Regions from separate parts of the Homo sapiens genome. Here region 2 is linked to region 1. The links are contacts of gene promoters, found by promoter capture Hi-C in human tissues and cell types (Jung and others, 2019). All regions are on one chromosome and are shown on one strand. Each heading gives the region's core, a stretch centred on a gene start or on the middle of the fragment in contact. The rest is flanking DNA. Distances are from core to core; before and after follow the strand shown.

Region 1 (3,426 bases), core at 452-2,951:
AAATCAAAGCCAGGGACTCTTTAGTCCTCAGTCAATATCTCTAAGCCTGTCTCGTCTCTGTCCAAAAATTATTTCAATTCCCCTGACTCTCAAAGATTTGTTTTGTACACCTTCCCAAGGAAATAAGGTCCTCATAAATAGAGATTACATCTACACATAACTCCAGAGTTTGGTACAGTTGATAGCCAATATGAAAGAGTTTCTAGGCAAGGTGCATACTAGAAAACTTCAAGTGGTCTTGGATTCTGTCCTAGCCCTGGATGCACGTGCAATGAATCCCGAGGTGGGAGAGTCTGGGAACTAGGCATTCATGCCCTGTGTGCCCTCATCCGTGGATGGACTTGGAGCCCTGGAGCCACCTACCCACTCACCCATGAGCCAAGTAGTCATAACAGACCAGCAACAAGTCCCACTAAAATCTCTAGGGAGGTGTTGCCAAGGTCCACTTAGCGTGTCCTGGCTTCTCCCTGTATTTCCCTCCTCATGACTCCCTTCCCACTCCCTTCCCTCTCGGAGCCCTGAGCTGGTCAGCAACACTTACTTCTCTTTGCTGTGTTTACTGCCCCACTCGAACTTGCCAGTACTCCCAGTATCGCAGCCCAGCTCTGATTTGTGAAGAAAGATCCCCAGACGTGTCTTGAACTCTTTGGCTCTGAAAAACAAATCAGGAACATGAAAGCATTCTCTCATTTGCTCAGCCAGTGTGGAGAGGTTTATGGGTCCCAGAAGAGCTCTGGGTGGTGCCACCCAAACTTTAGCCTCAAGAGTTCCTGGAAACTCTTGGCTGTCCCCAGGCCAAGAGTGCTTCTCTTATCAGCATCATCAACCCCAAAGCAACAAAAGCAATGTTTGAGCTATGCTGTGGTAGGTCTTACACTTTCTGGGTAATACACACGCTGCATATATGGGCTTTTCCCTAAAGTCACACTGATCTCTCTTCGTGCCTGTTGATTCAGAAAAGAACTCAGCATTCTTTTCAGAAGTATTTCTGAACTGTGTGGGAAACTGATTCCTGCCTTCATCTTTACTTTTTCCTTCCCAGCCAGTAAGGATTGGAAGCTGTTGAGTAGCTCTCTGGAATATGGACACACCCTCAACAGTGGGAGCCCCCACCCCCACACACCCCACCAAAAAAAAAAAAATCTCCCTGTCTTCCAGGGGCAGAGGAGGCAATGCCCCTAGCTCTGGTCTGAGGAATGAAAAACAAATGCTTAAGAAATGGGCAGGCTCAGTGCTGCCTGGAAATGTCAACGTGGCCTTCCCGCAGCCGGGTCTTCAGCAGGTCACCTGAGCACGACTGCAGTTTGTCAGAGGATGGGGATGGCAGCAAGCCGCGGGCCCTTGCTTCCCTTCCCCTTGCTTTCTCCCTGCTCCTGGAATCTGAGCACGTGGCATCAAGTGCGCTTCTACCTCTCTACTCAAGCCTCTAGCGCCCCATCCCCGCGCCCACCCAGGTCCCCAGGCCTGCCGCTCCACTCCCTAAGAGTTGGTGGGACTTCCCCCAAGCAGTTGGACAACCTCCCCTTACCTCTCCAGGCAGGTGGTGGGGAAGGCGGCCAGGGTGCGGCACATGGCTGCGGGCGCAGGGCAGCACGTAGTAGGCAGGATGGTGGCAGGCTCCAGGAGGCTCCGCGTGCGCCAGGAAGCAAAGGCGCGGTAGCAGGTGCTAGTCAACTGCGGTTGGGTTTAGCAGCCTGCAAGCGCCCAGACTGAGCGGCCGCTGCTTTAAATCCCCTCGGAGGAGCGGGGCGGGGCTGGGCACTGCTGACCAATCGGAGGGTGGGGCTGGGCGCTGAGAAGGCGGAGGCGGGGCCCGCAGCCAGACTGGGCCGGGTGCAACTTTCGCGGCAGCTGGAGCACGCGGAGCTGCACCCTCCGCCCAGAGGACGCCGCGTGTGGAAGGAAAAGCGGCAAGAGAATTGGCACGGGGATGAGACGTGCACACCCAGTTTCCTAGGGAAAAGTACCTGCCGACCTCTAGTAACAGCAGGAAAGTCACGCAGCGGTGTCGTGTTGAGAGAGTTTGCACGGGGGTGGTGGGTCTGGGAGGCACACAGGGCTTTCTTTGATCGCAGGCAAGTCTGAGCCTGCTGGGTCCTGAGGACAGGCGCACAGGGTGCAAACCTGGGCAAAACAGCATCTGATTATACTGATAAGTACCCTTTACGAGGCTCTTACCATGATGGACACGGGGCTAAGTAAGCTCTTCATCATCATCTCCATTTTATAGATGAAGAAATCGAGAATCAGAAAGCTAAATAAACTTGTCCAAGATCACAGTTGGAGATGACAGAAAAGTGGAATAGGGATGAGTAGTTTATTGAACACCTACTATGTGCTAGGCACATAAGTAAGACTTGCTCAAAGTCTTAGTTATTAAATAACTTGCTCAAAGATGTGCAGCTAGTAAGTGTTGGCTCCAAAATTCAAATGTGAATTTGCCATTCTTTTTCCATTGCACACACACACACACACACACACACACACACCACACACACACACAAAGGTTAGTACCCGGTCACGGCTATACCTGTGGACGATCCTGGGTTTAAGCAGTTAATACCTTATTGTCTCCATCTCTGACATAAAGGTAATAAATGCCCTTCCTCTCACCTCATCTTCCCATAAAGGCATTGGGATTGCTATTAAGAGGCTGTATGTGAGGTTAAAAGTACAGGGTCTAGAGTTAGATTTTCAGGTTTCAAGTCATGGCTCTGCCAGGTGACCTGCTGAAGACCCAGCTGCAGGAAGGCCACGTTCACTGTTAACTGGCTACTGATGGGAGACGAGGCAAACTGCTTAACCTTTCTATGCCTCCATTTCCTTGTCTCTACGAAGAGAACAACTTATTTCATAAGGTGGTTGTGAGAACTAAATAAATTAATTCTTAGTTTGAGTTCCTAGGAACTAGACTCGGGTAGACACTTGCATGCAGGAGGTTTACTGGGGAGAGTTATCAGAATTAAGAGGGAGTAAAGAAAGCAGGTCTGGGCAGAGGGAGGAGTTGAAGGCCATGCCATTTCAACAGAGACCCCAGCTGGTTCCAAGGAATGCCCGGAAGCTCAGCTGGCCCTTTGGAACTGTCCACTGAAGCAAGAGGACAAGGCCCTGGTAACCCCATAAAGACCATTCATTGCATACAGCTGCCCAAGAAGACAGCCTAATCTTAAGGCAGTGCCCTTTGTCAAGAGCAATTCCTGGAGAGAGACTAACACCCTGGGAAATGATGATCACAGTCCCCAAGACGGGATCTGGGTGGCACCGCACAGCATCCGTGACAACATATAAGGTGCTTATATGACAGTGCTCAACATGTAGTCAGCAGTCAATAAATGTTATAATAGCTTTCAGTTTTACTTAATAGGGATACTGGGATTGCTAGCAATAAGGAAAATTAGTGAGTCTTTTGTGCCTCTTGGAATACAG
Region 2 (3,274 bases), core at 437-2,936, 1.5 Mb before region 1:
ATATCACAAAAATCCTCCAAGTCCACATGACTGAAAATTGGGGGCAAAGGTCACCTCTGAAAGCTTATTTCTATCTTATTCCTATGTCATTCCTGAAAAATCCATGTGCTTATTATAGATTGTAGTGGTGATAAAAGAGGTGAATTGCTGAACTGACAAAAATACTACAAAGTAGAAGCAGGGGATTAAATATACAAAATTGTAACCTGTGATCAAAATTGTGACTTTGATCTAGGCTTAGAAATTGTTACACCTTAGCCCATGTTACTGGCAGGCAATGTAAAGTCAATATATTGCCAAAGAATTTGTCAGCCACACTGGGCAGTGTCCTCTCTACTAAAAGGCCACAGCCATGGAATGAAAGCCCTGCTCCTGGTCACAGACAGCCCAGGTCTGTTCTGGGAGCCAGATTTAAGGGAGGCCATAGCAGTGCCAGATGGTAGAAGCCAGAATATGGACTGTGGAGCCGGGTAGAACCTGGTTTGAATCCTGCCTCTGCTGTGAATGACCTTGGGCATATAACTTAACCTCTCTGAGCTTCTCTGAGCCACTGTCTTCTTATCTGTGAAATGGGAATGGTAACATCACACTAGATTCTTGTCAAGATCAAAAAAAGATGATGTACTTATATGAGTACCTAGCACCATGCTTTGTTGACATTGACATGTGAGACCCTTTCTCTCAGACTCTATCCTGATTGCATCAGAATTCTACAAGGCCTGGCATCCACTTATCAAGGGTATTAATTTCCTCCACGAGGCTGCTTTGACCTCCAGAACCCAGCGGGCGTGCTCTTCTGAACTCTCCACCTTATCACCTCCATGGATCATATCTTGCTTTGCTGAGTGTGCTTTCTATTCCTGTATCTGCATTTTACTTCCTCGATTAGGGTGTAATCTCTTTCCAAGCAGAAGCTTTCATCTTTTTAAAATGTTCCATTTTTGCATTTTAGCGCCGTGCCTTTTTGCACATAGCGCTTGCTCAAAAAATAGGGATCGGTTGATATTTTATCTACTTTTGTGTCCTAAAAATTGCCCCAGAGTCATGAGCTGAACTTAGCTTACATGAGGTCGTTACTACAAAGTCACAACATGTTTATTCATTTATCTGTTTATGTGGTAGCCCTACCATGACTCACACATCCAAATGAGGATTGCAGCCGTATAAGGGGCACTGTGAAGGCTGACTGTGATTCTGGGAGCCTGTCACCTCGCAAAACATTTTTGGAACTCCTGCTTTGAATCAGTGCCAGAGTTGCAGTGGTGAATCTTCACACCTCCTGGGAGGAGTTATTTTTGGAAACAGTGAAAATCTGTCTGGTCACATTTGGTAGGTGTGGTCATTCAGGGCCTGAGTGTGAGGAGGGATGCTCAGTGGAGTGATAATTAGTTAATATTTAATTGGCCATTTCCAATGTGTCAGCCAGTTTACATCCACTGTCTTATTTTAATCTTAATGTGACCTCTATGAAGTAGGTGGTCTTGTTATCACCATTTTATAGAAAAGGGACCCTGAGGCACAGAGAGTATAAACCACACTCTGTACAGGGACTCCATGGCTTTTTACCCATTATTAAGCTAGTGTAGCAGGCACAGGGGACATACCCAAGTAACCCTTATGTACCCTAGCAGAGATGAGGGACCTGGACACCTTTTTTAAAAACAATAAGGCCAAGGACAGCCACATTTGGATTAGTGGGAGCAGGGGGAGAGTATGGGGAATGCGGGAACCCGGGAGGAGCTAAGAAAACTGGTCAGATCCTGCATCATAGGTGAGTACAGGCACCCCAGGGGGCCCAATGGGAGAGACCAGAGAAGGGAGGAGAGCACTGGGGCTTGTTTGGGAACCTCTGAGTGGGTAAAGATGGTCACTAAAATCTCCAACCAAAGGAATTCTTTTTATGCCTCTCTTTTTTGCTTTCTTAAAATTGTATTCATACTTGCTGATTATAAAAGGAGTTCAAGTTCATCGTAGAAAACTTAGAAAATATAGAGAAGTGATAAAGAAAATAAAAGTCATCTGTAAATGTCCCTCTCCTCCCCCAGGCCTCAGGCTTTGCTAAGACAAGGCCGCTGAGCAGATCAGCACACATCGGGTTATTTATAAAGCTCCCGCCTTCCTCTCCACCCACTCCCCTCTCTCTTGGCTACGGAGAAGCCTTCGGCCAGGACATTCCCTTGCAGCCTACTCAAGCTGCTATATAAAGCCCTGCACTTCTCGGGGCTGGATCAGAACGTTCCTTATCTCTCTGCAGCAGGACGCTGATAATCTGCCCAGCTGGCAGGCGCTCTGAGGTCGGCTTGGGCTGCTGCTCTCAGGGCCTACAGCCCCCGTGTGGTCGTCTTCTCTGGTTCCCACTGAAACTTGGCCAACAACACTAACTGAAACCTCAAATATAGGAAGTTGTTGGCTTGTTTCATTAGAGGGCAGTTGCCAGACAGCTGAGATGAACTTAATGGGCTTGGCATGGGTGACTGGTGTGTCCAGCACATTCAGGCTTAGTGGTCAATACTGATGGCCCATCGTAACGTCCCCTTCGGAAGCAGCTGTGCCAGCTCCCTCCTTCCCCAGCCCCCACCCCTGTTCCATCCCCTCTCTGCATTAGTGCTTGGCTCAGAGTCTTCTTCATCCATATGGCTTCTACAGGCAAAGGCCTTCTGTGGCCAGGTGGCCTGCTGCATTGCAGTGCCACAATTCCAGGCTGGACTTCTACCTAATTGAGAGTGGACCACAGCAGACGTACTTGCTCTGCCTAGAAAATAAGTTTTGTCATGAGAGGCAGAACCATCTTATTGCTGTAAGTCAGGGCAGAGGAGTGTGCAAAAGAGGCAAGGTATTATCCTGAAAAAATACACAGGTTTTAAATCGGAGCTGGTGTGACATCCTAGCTTCTCCACTTAGAAAGAAGTGTGATCCTAAGTAAGTTATGTAACCCCTTCGAAGCCTGGTTTTCTCATCTTTAAAATGTAGAGTGATATTTCCATCTTAGAACTGTTGTAAAATGTAAATAAGATGACATATGTAAAGCACTGAAAACATACATCAGATGGCATTATGGTAGCTATTTTTTTGTTTTGTTTTGTTTTGTTTTTGAGATGGAGTCTCACTCTGTTGCCCGGGCTGGAGTACAGTGGCACAATCTCGGCTCACTGCAACCTCTGCCTCCTGGGTTCAAGCAATTCTCCTGCCTCTACCTCTCAAGTAGATGGGATTACAGGCACCGACTACCACCCCCAGCTGATTTTTGTAGTTTTAGTAGAGACGGGATTTCACC

What was found. The method cuts DNA at HindIII sites, captures the fragments that hold promoters and counts their contacts. A contact is called where the count stands out against the background at its distance.
Region 2: a fragment that was not itself captured here is called in contact with the fragment with the promoter of RGS16 in region 1 in 1 of the 25 tissues and cell types used here (heart right ventricle).

The regions. Positions count from the first base shown.
Region 1 is chr1:182,602,688-182,606,113 of GRCh38, forward strand. It overlaps RGS16 (regulator of G protein signaling 16), which reads right to left and starts at 1,702. Exons shown (of 5, transcript NM_002928.4): 1 at 1,529-1,702; 2 at 542-652. The coding sequence starts at 1,572. RefSeq lists enhancers at 1,267-1,326, 1,417-1,466, 1,937-2,016. The HindIII fragment of the contact is 25,162 bases long and covers 1-3,426 here.
Region 2 is chr1:181,150,891-181,154,164 of GRCh38, forward strand. No RefSeq gene overlaps it. Among named protein-coding and RNA genes, the nearest start is that of LINC01732, 22 kb to the right of the region's middle. RefSeq lists enhancers at 1,023-3,274, 2,066-2,275 and a silencer at 2,115-2,399. The HindIII fragment of the contact is 8,194 bases long and covers 1-3,274 here.